Linked DNA regions of Homo sapiens: region 2 is linked to region 1. Evidence: promoter capture Hi-C in 16 types of primary human blood cells and fetal thymus (Javierre and others, 2016). All regions are on one chromosome and are shown on one strand. The core of a region is centred on a gene start or on the middle of the fragment in contact, and the rest is flanking DNA. Distances in the headings are between cores, read along the strand shown.

Evidence for each region. The method cuts DNA at HindIII sites, captures the fragments that hold promoters and counts their contacts. A CHiCAGO score of 5 or more calls a contact.
Region 2: a fragment that was not itself captured here is called in contact with the fragment with the promoter of RGMB-AS1 in region 1 in 1 of 17 cell types (total B cells); the score reaches 7.0 in total B cells.

The regions. Positions count from the first base shown.
Region 1 is chr5:98,767,232-98,774,333 of GRCh38, forward strand. RGMB-AS1 (RGMB antisense RNA 1) reads right to left here and starts at 5,853. Exons shown (of 2, transcript NR_033932.1): 1 at 5,391-5,853; 2 at 2,387-3,953. It overlaps RGMB (repulsive guidance molecule BMP co-receptor b), which reads left to right and starts at 6,432. Exons shown (of 3, transcript NM_001366508.1): 1 at 6,432-6,975. The coding sequence starts at 6,840. RefSeq lists enhancers at 1-677, 678-1,418, 3,130-3,630, 6,009-6,058, 6,794-7,102 and a silencer at 6,279-6,908. The HindIII fragment of the contact is 10,132 bases long and covers 3,716-7,102 here.
Region 2 is chr5:95,559,437-95,566,538 of GRCh38, forward strand. ARSK (arylsulfatase family member K) reads left to right here. Exons shown (of 8, transcript NM_198150.3): 2 at 6,562-6,691. Among named protein-coding and RNA genes, the nearest start is that of ARSK, 7.9 kb to the left of the region's middle. The HindIII fragment of the contact is 2,864 bases long and covers 1,002-3,865 here.

The DNA of each region.
Region 1 (7,102 bases), core at 4,603-7,102:
AAGGGATACTTAAGAATCCTCTTTAATAGATAACTTTTAACAGTGTGCATTGTATGAAAGCCAAGCCATTCTAAAATTCTGTTGTTGAAATTGAAGCAAGAGATTTGTAATTTAAAAGTTAGTGCTTCATTATGAGATTTTACCCTTTTTTGCCTTAGTTGCATAGAAAGTTCTCAGAAAACAGACAAGCTTACCCAGAGGGAGAACTAATGTTCAAGTTTCCAAAGTGGGTGGTGAATTGAAAATCATGAAAAATATTATGAAACTAAAGAAAAATTAAACGTATGATCTGATGAATGTATTTATGTGATGATTGACAAGTTAGCCTCTAGGTTCCACTGAGCAATATTTATGGGAAAGGAGTGGAGGAGACAGGGAATTCTGGCAGCTTGTGCCTGCTATTTATGTACCGTTCAGCTTAGCAGGAGAGGGACGAAGAACTGGGGCTGCATTAAAAAACATCCTCTGGGCTGGCTCACTGGGCTTGCTTTGAACTCTTGTTCATCATTATTTTATGCTGCAGCTTGTCTTTGTGTTGGTGGAAGGGAAAAGAAAAACACAAGAGACTAGCCTTTAGTTTCTAAATCAAAGCTGTGCTTTGCTGACTGCTGGAGTGGCTTTTCAAAAGCAAAACAAGTGGGGACATTAAAATTCCTTGCTTTTGTAAACCAGGAGCTGAGTTGGGGTTTTTTTTTTCTTCTTTTTAAATTCTCAGATGCAAAAGGGTATGTTTCAATGTGTCTTACATTTACCTTGAAACAATCTCAGTATGTTTTTTTCCATTTGACTGGCACTTGGAGAAGATAAAGCAAGGTGAAAAAAATACTAAGGAGGAACCTGCAGAGGTTTGGAGGAAGGGCGTTCATTGTCATCGAATTTAAGAAAGAGAAGGATATGTAAATTTTACTAATTAATGCCTCTTACACATCCTTTCTTGATAGTGACCCCAAGGTCCAAAGACGTTAAATCAGTTGCCTAAAGCCCAGACCCAGAAAGTCAGGACTAGACCTTCCTCTGTGGATTCCCACTCGTCCTCTTTACACTGCCCTATGCTGCCTCTAGCGTTAGCCGGAGAAACTGTAAGGAGGGGTTAGGGGAGGAGAAGGCAAAGAAAAGCTGGAGAGGGTCGTAGATTCTTGCCTAAGGAGGCAAGAAGTGACCTCCCTGAGTCAGGATACTTGAGCATTTGACTTGACTAAGAGAAGTAGCCCGCTAGTTCCAGGCGTTGAACGCGCCAATTAGCTGCCGCTGAGTATCTGGGATGTTTTTTGTTTGTTTGTTTTTCTACTTTGGAAGATCAATGTAAGGTAGAAAGTTAATCCCTTTCTTCTTGCCCTCCACGCCTTCCACGCTGATCGAAGCGACCGTCCTCCCTCGAACATTTCGTGGGCTCATTCTTTGTAACACACTTGCTCTGGGCCTTAGGTGTCTCTTTAAACCCTCTCTCCCCTCTTTATTTCCAAATCTTTATCTTTGGCTTTCTTAAGCTGTAAAGGCACACTGGCACCTTAGGTGGTCAGGTAAGATCGCTGGATTCCTTATTTCGGCGAAAGTCCAGCGGACCATTCCCGCCACTGTACCCATTTTAGAAACACTTGGAAGACCCTTAAGGATCATTTACGGAGAGAAAGGTGTGCATTCTGCGGCTGCCGGCGGGCAGCTAGAGAACGTGGCGGGGGGCAGCGCATCTGGCGCCTTGGCCGGGGCGCGGAGTGGGAACAGCCCGCACGCGTCCGCTGCCGCCCTGCCTGGCGACGAGTGGCACAATCGCCCACCAGGAATCGGCTGGTGCCGCGGGTGGGCGAAGGCAGCGCCGCCGGCCCGGAGGGCGGCGCGGAGGGTGGCGCTGGCGGCGTGAAAGGCGTCTTTGTGCAAGATTGAGTGTGGTGGGGGGAAGGCGAAGAGAGAACTGATCCAGGACCTGGACGCGGGGGTCTGCGGCGCCCCTACGCCCCCACGCCCCCAGCCGTCCGCAGTGCCGGAATGAGCCGGATAGCGCCGGCAGGGGGCAGTGTGGCGATATAGGGGTTGCCGGGGGGAGAGGAGGGTCTCTGTTCACCTCTATTTGAGGCTGACTGGGGAGAAAGCTGCCTGGAGGAAGCTGCTGGGGTGCGGGGGGCTGAGGGATTTGGCTCCCCGCCCTCTCCCCTAGATGGCGGAGAAATCGGGCTAGCTGGAAGGGCGCAGCTCCTCTCCCAGAGCTCATTCTGGAGTCGGAGAACTGGGAGAGCGGCCCCCGAGGCGGAGCCTCCCTCCCGCCCCGAGTCGCGCTGCCCCCCACCTGGGGGAGAGGGGCGGGCGCCGCGCTGCCTTCCCTCCGCGCCTCGGCCGCGTGGCTTGCGGCTTATTTTCCCAGCTGGCAAGCGTCGCGCTGCAGACAAGGGAATGCCTGTGGTGAGTTGTTTATTTTGTTGAAGTTTGCGGTGGGCCCGGGGGACGTGGGGGGCGAGCGGCAGGCAGCGGCCGGGACTGTTTTGTTTAGGTCTCCATCCACCTGTGGGGTATAAATCTGCCAGCCTCAAGGCGGCGGGGGACCGGAGTGAGAAAGCTCTGACGCTCCCAAAAGCCCCTTTTCGCAACTTACAGATCTAGGACCACATTTGATTCTCCACGCCTGGAACCGGCTAGATCCTAGTTTACGCTCACCCCGCCCTCCAGCCTCCCATCAACGCTTCCCGCACCCGCTGTGTGCAGGGCTGGCGCTCCGCAGAGCAAACAGCGCCCACGACCCAGGGACAGCTGGCCACCGAAGTCCCTCCCCGGCGCCCTTCCCCGTTCCTTGAGGATAGGGGAGCTGAGGTTTTCATGTGAAGGGCGCCCATGAAATTCGTGGGAACTTGTTCTGGCGTCTTCTGGAGTGGAGTTCTTTCAGGGGTTTCGGGTCTGCCCGGGACTACAAAATGGGATCCTGGGTTGGCTGGAGTTTCCCAGACTAGGCTGGAGAGAGGTCGGCTGTTGGCTCGCGGGAGAGCCCAGAGGAACCCCTTGGGCGATGGCAGTCAAGACCGGCGGCTGCGTTTGCCTGGAAGAAAAGCCTAAATACATTAGCGAGCTGGTAAAGCTTTTAAGGCCTTCTTGGGAGCGAGTGGCTGGCTAATGAGAGGTTAATTTTGTTTCGAAGGGAAGGCTGCACTGGTTTCCTGAGATAAATGGACAGGAAGCGCATTACCTCCGCGCGCTGGCAAGCGGCTCCCAAATGCTTTTTGCACCTGCCGTTTTGAGCGGTGAGAGCAGCGGCGGAGCCCGCAGGGATTGCGGGGGCCCGTTGTCTACGAGCGGGTGATGAGCCCCCCGCAAGCCCCGGGCTCTCTCCCTCCGCGAGTGCATTGCTCACGCCAAGCTTTGGGACTCTTCTCTCACACCCAGGTCCTGCGTGTTCCGAAGTTCAGGGGCCCCCTGATCCCGCTGAGCCCCCTCCAGGAGCGAAAGGGTTAAGAATGATGTAAGTACAGGCACTTGATTTCTCAAGTCGCCCGCTTGGCCCTCTTCCAAGTTGTACTTTCCTTATTTTCTCTCCTTTCCTTTCCTTACTGTTCTAACGCTTTTTAATAAACTTTCACTCTTGCTCTGAAAAAAAAAATGATGTAAGTACAAACCACGAGCTGCTTGACGCTGAGCTGTTGGACTCCGGGCTATTTCAGCCGCTGCTTTGGGTACACAGTGGCCGGGGAGCAGCCGGGGAGCCCTTACTCTAGAAAGGATTGCACAAATCGCAAGCTTAGGTGATCTGTTAAGCAGTCAGAGATTCTCCTGTTAGATTTCTGGAAATGGAGACATATTAACTGGAGAACAGTTAAAAACATCACGTATAGGCTCAGGAAATGAAACTGCATCTTGTTTAGAATCCATTAGTGTTTCTGGCATGTGTTTTAATTCTGTCCACTTGCACGTTCATGCCGTAGTATGCTTTGCTGGATTCTCCGGATGTACTGTTCAGGTCTCCTCCTTCCTTTCTGAAAACAAAGAGAAAGGGAGAAAGAGTACCAGTGGCAAGAAACAGGGTGGATGTGTGAATTACACAAGTCATCAGCCACTTCATGATTTTTTTTCTGATTAAAACATAAAACTTTTATAAGTCACCGATTTTTTTGTTTGTGTTCTAGCTCCCTCCCCGATTTTTCTTTGTACAATATAAAGTCGTTTGTAACTTGCAGCTCACGGGCTTGAGGAGTGGCTGCGGTATAAGCGACTATTCACTACGCTCTTGCTTTCCAAGCCAATTCCTGATCTTGTGAACAGTACGAATTTACCCGCGAGTGTGTCAACTGACCTATGTCTTGAAAATAGGAACCACCTTGCGGTTTACTTGTGAAAATTAGCATTTTCCTCTAGCGGCTGAACACTTATGCAGCAATAAAAAGTGAATTGTTAGGCTTATAAATCTCGAGCTTGTCAAATTTTACAACAGAGGAGCAATAAAGCACCTTATAGAGATGAAGTTTTTCCTCTGAAGAACAGTTCCGTTTAACGACACCAGGATTTGCAATGACTCGAGGACGCCCTCTATTGATAGGAAAATCTAGAGCACCCGTGTACTTATGGAACAGGATATAGGGGGAGGGGAGTAAAAAATCATAGAAAGTCACGAGTGGAAAGACCCAAACCAAACAGAAATTATTGATCCTTAACTATTGAGTATATGCTTTGAAGTATGATCAATAAAGTGAGATGCTGCTTTTATAGGGGTCGAATTAAATCTTGGGTTAAGAGAAAAAAATGTAGTCTTTGTTAGCCAAATACTTTGAAAATCAGTATTATGTTTGATTACTTTTTTAAGATGCTTCTTAGTATGTCATGAACTGTATCTAATTATATGAAGTAATTGCAAGATAGTAAATTTTTGCTCTAATAATACTTAGTCCGCAGCATTATCTAAAAATGTCATATAACTTCCTCCCCAAAAGTCATTTCTCCAGGCAACTGTGAAGCTATTATTAAGCGTATTATGGATATACACAGGCTTGGATTATATTGTGGATAGTGAAAGGTGTGTTTACCCCTTAAGTCATCATAGTATGTAACAAGTAAGTAATGAAAAGTTACAGTAAAAACAGATAGGCATCCTTCATTAGGGACCTAGTGGTTTGGGCAATTCAAAATGTGTCTAATAAGTGAGCTGGTGAGACTGAAGGTTTGCCCCTCAATTATCCTAGTCCATTGATTAGCTCATTTAAACATGTGTGGAATATCAGCATGTCCGTGGTTGATAAGAAATTCCTAATTAGAGATTCTGAGTAACATAGCGGGTACAGTTGCCAACTACGATTTGGATGTTAGTGGATTTTAAATGGCAACCCTGTGCTGTTTGGGGAAAGGCAAAGGCGAGGGCGGTATCAAGTGTCTCTCAGCCTTGAGGTCATTCTTGAGATTAGATACCACTTCACACCTACCGATAACAAATTGGAATCTATCATCAGTCTCATAACTGCTTTTCTGTCTCCACTTGGCAGCCTCTTTCTTTGTAGACAATTGTCTTTTTCCTCACTTTCGGACCCATCCGATCATAAAAGGAGAAAGTGAGCTGCCATTGAATTAATCCGTAGAAATTTGTGGAAAATTTAAATAATCTGTAGAAATTTGTGAAAAAGCCACTGAGCAACAACAAATCGTGGCATAATTACACTGCATAAAAACCCACCACTCTCATTAATTACACTGTAACCGAACGTTGAAGTTTGCCCACTCTTAGACCTCTCCTTGCCGCTTTCAGGAAGGGAAATGTCAAACTAGAACACCTGAGCCTCGCACAGCTGCCAGCGAATTCCGGCGGCAGTTCGCGGGTACCTTCCCAGCCCATCCTATCTGCTCCGGACCGCGGGTGACATTCAGATTTCCAACACCGCCCCGAGCTTGCTTTACCAGACACCCTCAAACGACTCGGAACGCGGTTCCGCAGATGTGATTGGCTGAAAGGGGACCTGCCGCGCGGCGCTCTGTAAAAGCGCCTGCTTCCTCCAAGGAGGTGGAGCTGAAGCTGGCAGGGCCAGGGCAGGGAGGGGTAATTAAATTAAAAAAAAAACTTGGAGGGAAGATGAATCGGATCACATTAATTCAAGGAGAGGTCAAAGGCCGGTACCTTTGTAACGCCGGCGAGAGTAAGACTTGCGGTCGCCCATTTCTGTTGGGCGCGAGGAAACAGTAAATCGCGGAAGGGGGTAGAGGGGGAAGGAAAGGGAGCGCGAGGCAGCATGCGGCGCAGGAGAGAGGACTTGGAGTCGATGGACAGGGAACTCGAATTACACTGAGCGGGCGGGGGAGAGGGCCCTCTGGGTCCTGCGATTGGCAGGCTGAGTCGGGCTGACGTGCGGTCACAACCAATGGGGAGGAAGGGAGGGACACGGCGGGGGATTATGGCGTCGTGGATTGGCGGGCACAGGGCGGGGCGGGACGGCAGTGCGGGACTGAGATTGATCGACCGCGGGGGCTGCCGCGCAGAGATATCCGGGCCGCCGGTGGGTGGTCGCTAGGGCTGGGCCAGCCTCTTGGAGGTCCACGCCCGCCGAGCCCACGCTGGCTGGGGCCGGGGTGCCGGCGCGCTCGGGACTCGTCTCAGCAGTCGCTCACGGTCTTTGTGTCTTCTCTTCCGCCCCTTTCCCTGCCTGCCGCCTCCGGCCGCCACGATGCCCCTGCGCCCCGCTGCTGCCGCCGCGGACTGGCTGCGCCGGCTGCGCGCTGCTTGCTGCGGCGGTGGTGGCGCCCCATCTGCTACACGGGCCTGAAGAAGGAAGAAGAGGAAGCGAAGCGCGCCCCCCGGCCCATGCCGCAGCCACGGGCCCAGACCCGCCACGGCGCCCGCGCCGCCGCCCTCGCCGGAGCCCACGAGACCTGCATGGACGGGCATGGGCTTGAGAGCAGCACCTTCCAGCGCCGCCGCTGCCGCCGCCGAGGTTGAGCAGCGCCGCAGCCCCGGGCTCTGCCCCCCGCCGCTGGAGCTGCTGCTGCTGCTGCTGTTCAGCCTCGGGCTGCTCCACGCAGGTAGGACGGGAGCGCGCGAGGGGAGCCAGCCCCGGGGCCTAGGGCTTTGTTCCCAAATAGCCCCAGGTCTCGAAGGCGCTCGCCGGGGCGGAAGGGCGGCGTGGCGCAACGGGAAAGGCCTCCCGAG
Region 2 (7,102 bases), core at 1,184-3,683, 3.2 Mb before region 1:
CTGGAAACAATCCCCTGCAGATACCAAGGGACAAATGTACTAGGAAACCAAATTCATTAGTATGTAAGAAGGATTATTCACCATTACCAAGTGGAATTTGTCCCCAAAATGTACAGTGAGTTTAATATCTGAAAATCAATTAATGTAATACATCATGTTGACTGAATAAAGGACAAAACCCATGTGATCATCTCAATAGATGCAGAAAAAGCATTTGAGAAGATTTGACAATCCTTATGCATTCAACTGGCTAGAAATAGAAGGGAACTAAAAGGCATCTACAAAAAAAGCCAGAACTTTACACTGAATGGTTAAAAGAAAAAAAAAATCAGTTTTCTGACTAAGATCAGGAAGAAGACAAGGATGTGTGTTCTCACCACTGCTATACAGCATTGTACTGGGGGTTCTAGCCACAGAATTAGAAAAAAGATTAAATAAAAGGCATTCACATTGGAAAGGAAGAAGTAAAAGTATCTATACTTGCAGTAATCTTGTATGTAGGATTCTACGGCTCCACTACAAAACTATTGAACTAATAAATTAGTAAGGCTGTATACCAGATCAGTGTACAAAAATAAATTGTATTTTATATACTTAATTGATTAACACACTTATAGTCAAATTAAGAAAACAGTTCCATTTAAAGTAACATCAGAATGGATGAAATACTTAAAATAAATCTAATCAAGGAAATATAGTTCTTATACTCCGAAAACTACAAAACATTGTTGAAAGAAATAAAAGAACATTTAAATAAATGAACAGACATCCCCTTTTCATGGATCAGAAGATTTAATATTGTTAATATAGCAGTACTCACCAAAATGATCTACAGATTCAATTCAATGCCTGTCAAAATCCCTAGAACCTTTTTTTTTTTCTGCAGAGATGGAAAAACCCATCCTAAAATTCATATGGTAATTCAAGGGACCCAGAATAGCCAAAAATAAATCTTGAAATAAAAAGAACAAAGTTGAAAGACATACACCTCCCAATTTTAAAGCTTATATCTTAACTACACCAATCAATGTAGTATGTTATTGGCTTAAGGATAGGTGACATACAGATCAATGGAATAGGATCTAAAGTCCAGAAATAAACTCTCATATTTATAGTAAATTGATTTTTTAACAAGGGTGCCAAGACCATTTAATAGGGAAAGAATGATCTTTTAAACAAATGGTGCTGGAAAAAAAAAATATGAATGAAGTTGGACCCTGCCTTGCACCATACACAAACACACAAAAAAAAACTTTAAGTAAATTGATTGATTAATCAAATGTAAAACTAAAAAACTCTTACAAGAAAACATAGGTGTAAGTCTTTGTGATTGTGGATTAGGCAATTAAAAGATGGGCAAAAGATCTTTTTTTTTTTTTTTTTTTTGAAATGGAGTCTCGCTCTGTCACCCAGGCCGGAGTGCAGTGGCGCAATCTCGGCTTACTGCAACTTCTGCCTCCCAGGTTCAAGCCATTCTCCTGCCTCAGTCTCCTGAGTAGCTGGGACTACAGGTGCCCGCCACCACACCCAGATAATTTTTTAATTTTTATTTTTAGTAGAGATGGGGTTTCACCGTATTAGCCAGGATGGTCTCGATCTCCTGACCTTGGGATATACCCGCCTAGGCCTCCCAAAGTGCTGGGATTACCGGCATGAACCACCATGCCCGGCCAAAAGATCTTAATAGACATTTCTTCATAGAAGATACGCAGATGACAAATAAATACATGAAAAGATGCTCAACATCATTAATCATTCGGGAAATGTAAATCAAAACCACAGTGAGACACCAGTTATACCCACTGGGATGGTTATAATGAAAAAGACAATAACTAGAGATGGCAACAATGTGGAGGAATTGCAACCCATACCCTGCTGGTAGGATCACGCAGCCATTGGAAATCAGTTTGGCAGTTTCTCGAATGGTTAACCATAGAGTTGCTGTATAATCCAGCAGTTTTACTCCTAGGTGTATATTCAAGGGAAATGAAAATATAAGTCTACACAAAAACTTCTACATGAATGTTCATAGCATTATAATGTTCATTATACATAATGGCCAAACAGTATAAACAACCCAAATGCCCATCAATTGATAAATGGATAAATAAAATTTGGTAATATTATTCAACAATAAAAAATATGGTATATGCTACAATATAGATGAAACTTAAAAAGATTATGCTAAATGAAAGAAGCTAGTCAAAAAGGACCACATATTGTATGATTCCATTCATATGAAATGTCCAGAAAAAGCAAACATAGAGCCGGAAAGTAGGTTAGTGGTTGCCTAGGCTTCAGGAAAATAGAGAGTAATGGCTAAAGAGTGCAGAATGTCTTTTGGGGATGATGAGAACATTCTAAAATCGACTATGGTAATGGTTGCACAGCTTTCTGAATACACTAAAAACCATTGAATTGTACACTTTAAATGGATGAGTTGTTTAGTGTGTTAATTATATCTTAATAAACCCATTTTTAAAAGAACAGAAAACAGGCTAGGCACGGTGGTTCACACCTGTAATACCAGCACTTTGGGAAGCCACGGCGAGCAGATCACCTGAGGTCAGAAGTTCGAGACCAGCCTGGCCAACATGGTGAAACCCCATCTCTACTAAGAATACAAAAATTAGCCAGGCATGGTGGTGGGCACCTGCCCAGCTACTCGGGAGGCTGAGTCAGGAGAATCGCTTAAACCTAGAATACAGAGGTTGCAGTGAACCGAGATTGTGCCACTGGACTCCAGCCTTGGTGACAGGGTGAGTCTCTGTCTCAAAAAAAATAAATAAAAATTTAAAATTAAATAAATAATAGAAAAGAAGCATCTCTGCCTGGGTCTTAAAGGACAGAGGCATCTTCTGCATCCCCACTCCTACTCCTACCTCTACTCCCTGCCACTGCACCTGTATCAGTTTTAGTTTTGCTGAGGTTTCAGGAGTGGCAGGGGAGAGTAGGTACAGGAGTGTTTACTAGAGAGTCTAGTGAGAATCTCATTCAGTCTGATGGACAGATCTGGGAAGAACACTATAAGCAGTCTTGCCATGCTGACATGGCAAATTAAAGTTGCTGTTACATTCTTTTATTAGGATGATTAATTCAAACCTAAACTTCTCTGATTCTGCATGGCCCATAATGATAAGGAACCGAGTACAAGCCATGGTTCAGAAGGAGCAATCAAAATCACAAAATTGTATCTACAAAAAGACTTACCCACCCCAAGGGGGAAAAATGTGTGGACCCATGAGAATTAATTAACAAGAGCAGAATGCAGCAACTAAAGGCAGTTGGTACCATTTCTGTAACTTTTGCAGAAAGCCAATTAATGGGTCATTTTTATTTCTTAAATGCCCAATTTTAGAGTGCTTAATTTGTTTGAACCATAGGAATGGCCTTGAGAAAATTGAAATGGGCTATTAGTAAGTTATAGAAGTTATAACAAAAGCCATTTTTCAAGATTTTCTCTGCCAACTAAATTTGACAGAACTGTGTTTTCACTTATAACTGGCTATCCATTGTAAACCACATTAACATACTATGGAAAACTTACTTTCTCTCTTTTTCATCAGCCAGCTGTGTTAAGATGCCTTTCAGTTCAGAATGAAATATTCTACTGACCGTCTCCCATTGATACCATTATCAGCAGTACTAGTAGTAGCCTAGTTTTTAAATGATTTGTTAGTGTGTAAAAACTACATGAAGTCAAAAACCAAAACTTCTAGAAAATTTTTAAATATTTTCTCTAATAACATTTTGGTCTTCGTTTAGAGTATTATTGATATTTCTGATATTGAGAATATGTATATCATAATTTAAATATTTCCTAGGAACCAAATTTTGCAATTGATATGCTTAATCCAGTTTATTAAGCTTTGCAAAAATACACTGTTGAATTTTGAGCATAAATTTGTCTTCTTTTTTAAATTGAACAAATCTCTGGATTAGAGATTCATTTCATTTCATTCACTGAATATTTGCATACCGCTCACTGCCTTATATATATCTCAGACAGCAATCTTAACATAGATCACCTTTCACTGATGGAATCGTTGGGAACTTTCCCACATGACGGCAGTCGCCCCCTCCCTTTCTGGTTATCTCTGCCACTATATTTCAAAGAGTCCTGCTTTCCAGCCTGCTTTTGATACAGATAATGTCCCTGTACTAGTCATAGAGATGAGTCAAGAAATCACTAACATCGATTTTAATCTGACACATTAGTTATTGATATGCTGCAGTAGTCATTTGCAGTGGTAGTTACACCAATTTGAACCTAGCCTGCAGGACTTGGAGTCCAAATCCCAATATGTGAATTATATAGCACCTTTAAGACAGTTCTACCTTGTGACCTTCTGCTCCATCCCCCAACCAGATAAGCCTGGGTTGTCTAGATTCTAGGCAGTGGCCACAAATTGTTATCTCCCCATGTTCAAAAGATTGTAACCATAAGACATATATACATTTGGAATTTGTGAGGATAAATTTCTGAGAATTTGAATTTAAGGGCTTAAAGAAATTCTCATGAGGGAGGGCTATGCACTTTTTTTTTTTTTTTTTTTTTTGAGATGGAGTCTTGCTCTGTCACTCATGCTGGAGTGCAGTGGCGCCATCTCAGCTCACTGCAACCTCTGCTTCCCGGATTCAAGTGATTCTCTTGCCTCAGCCTCCCGAGTAGCTGGGATCACAGGCACCTGCCACCACGCCTAGCTAATTTTTGTATTTTTAGTAGAGACAAGGTTTCACCATGTTGGCCTGACTGGCTTTGAACTCCTGACCTCAGGTGATCTGCCTGCCTCAGCCTCCCAAAGAGCTGGGATTACAGGCATGAGCCACTGTGCCTGGCCACTATGCACTTTTGTCTTCGCCTTTCTAGCTCATCATTGAGGAAATCAGTAGTTATTTGCTTAGCATTCAATGATTACTCTTGCTAGAAGTGGTAATTTATTTTGACATAAGACATGCATAATTTTCCCCATCTTAAAAAAAGAACTGACTTTAATCCCACATTTTCTTCCAGCTAACACACCATTCTCTAACATCCCTCCCGTTTTTCTGTTTTGCTTTGCAAAATAACTTCTCAGAAGAGCTTTTCTTTTTTCCCCCTGCTGCCTCACTTTCCTGCCTCCCATTCCTTCCCCTTTCCAGTTTAGCTGTTCATCTTTACCACGCATCGAAAGTGCTCTTGTCAGGGTCACCAGCTGTCTCCATACTGCCAATTCCAATGTGCATTTTCTGGCCTCATTTCAGGTGCATTCTCAACACAGCAGATGTTACCTCTTTCTTGGCACACTGCCTTCTCTCAGCTGTCATGGCACTCGGTCTCCTCACATCTTCCTCCCTTGGCCATTCTTTCTCAGTTTCCCATGCTGTTTCCCCTCTTATTTGGGACTCCTTATAGCTTCCTCTAGACCCTTTTCTTTCCCCTCCTTCTCTCTCCCTGAAAGGTTTTATTTAATCTCACAGTTTTCAAAACCATGAATATGTTAAATACTCCCAAGTTTTATTTCGCCAAGATAGACTTCTCTCAACTCCAGATTCCTATCTGTATCCAACAGCCTACTTTATATCTCTATTTGGGAATCTCAGCTATCTCAAGGATTTAGATATATTCTATATTTTGGGTTGGCTCATGTTCTAAACTGGAATTTATTTATAATTATGTTGAAAACATATAATAGATAGAACTCCAGGACTGGAACATTCTTTTTTCTGTTCTTGCTCTTTACCAACGTGAGTTCTTCAATTCCCAGTTCATCTCCAAAATGCATATCTCCAACCCAAACATCTCCTAATCTTCAGACTCACTTATCAAGCTGCCTAATTTTTTTTTGTAGAAACAGGGTCTCCCTGTGTTGCCCAGGCTGGTCTTGACCTCCTGAGCTCAAGCTATCCTCCCACCTCAGCCTCCCAAAGTGCTGGGATTATAGGCATGAGCCACCACACCCCACCCCAGCTGCCTAATTGATATCACCACTTCCATCTCACAGATATCTCAAACTTTGTATGTCCTTTAAATTCTTTGAATAGCTGGATCCTGTTCATTCTTTAGGTCTCATACATCCCAGAGAAGGCTTCCCTGTCCACACTGTCTAACGTAGGTCTCTCTTGTCCTTCTGTATCTCGGATTTTTTTCAAAGCACACGTCATAATTTGTAATTATTCATAGTTTATTTGCCAGTATACTTTTTGCCTCTCCCACTAGACTGTAAGCTTCATGGGGCCTAAGACTCTGTTTTATTCACCATTGCATCCTCAGATTTTGCAGTGTCTGGCACATAGTTAAGTATTCAATAAATACTTAGTCAGTTCATCATCCCCCAAAAGAACATTCCAGGAAGTCCTTTATTTACTGTAGTTAAATGAATCCAAGTGTAACGCTGCACTGAATTCTAGCTATTTATGTACCAGATACTGGAAACACCCTCTATACTTGTTTTGTTTTTATCTTTGGAGGATTCTTAAAATCATATTGAAGTCTTCTGCTATTGTAAATTTTATGGTTAAAGAAAATAATTTTCTTCTTTGGTAATGTAATCAATGCTAATTAAATTTCTTTATTTCCAGGATGGAAGGTTAACATTTCATCCAGGAAGTCAGGTAGTGAAACTTCCTTTTATCAACTTTATGAAGACACGTGGGACTTCCTTTCTGAATGCCTACACAAACTCTCCAATTTGTTGCCCATCACGCGCAGGTATGAACATCCTTAATATGAATGGGAGAAAGTGGCTACACACTGAAAATATATTCACAGTTTAAAAGATTATACCTAAAAGTAGAATAGTTGTATTTGGCCTCAATAAAATTGTTTTAATATAAAAGATGTGCATTTTAAGGTATATATTGGCTATTGGGGTTGTTCAAATTGTATTTTTCAAGAGTAGGAATTTTTATCATTTAGAAAGGTGTCTAGTTCATGTGTTACCGTTTTATTTCCTTGTGACTGGGGACTAAGAATCTTTTGGCCATCCAAGAAAATGAGGGAATACTCATATTTCCTAGAAGAGTTCTGTTTCCAGGGAAATTTTTCAGTAACGGTATAGGTAATTGGGAGGACTTCTATGAACATTAGAGTATACCATAAAGTAGTTACAACTTATATTCA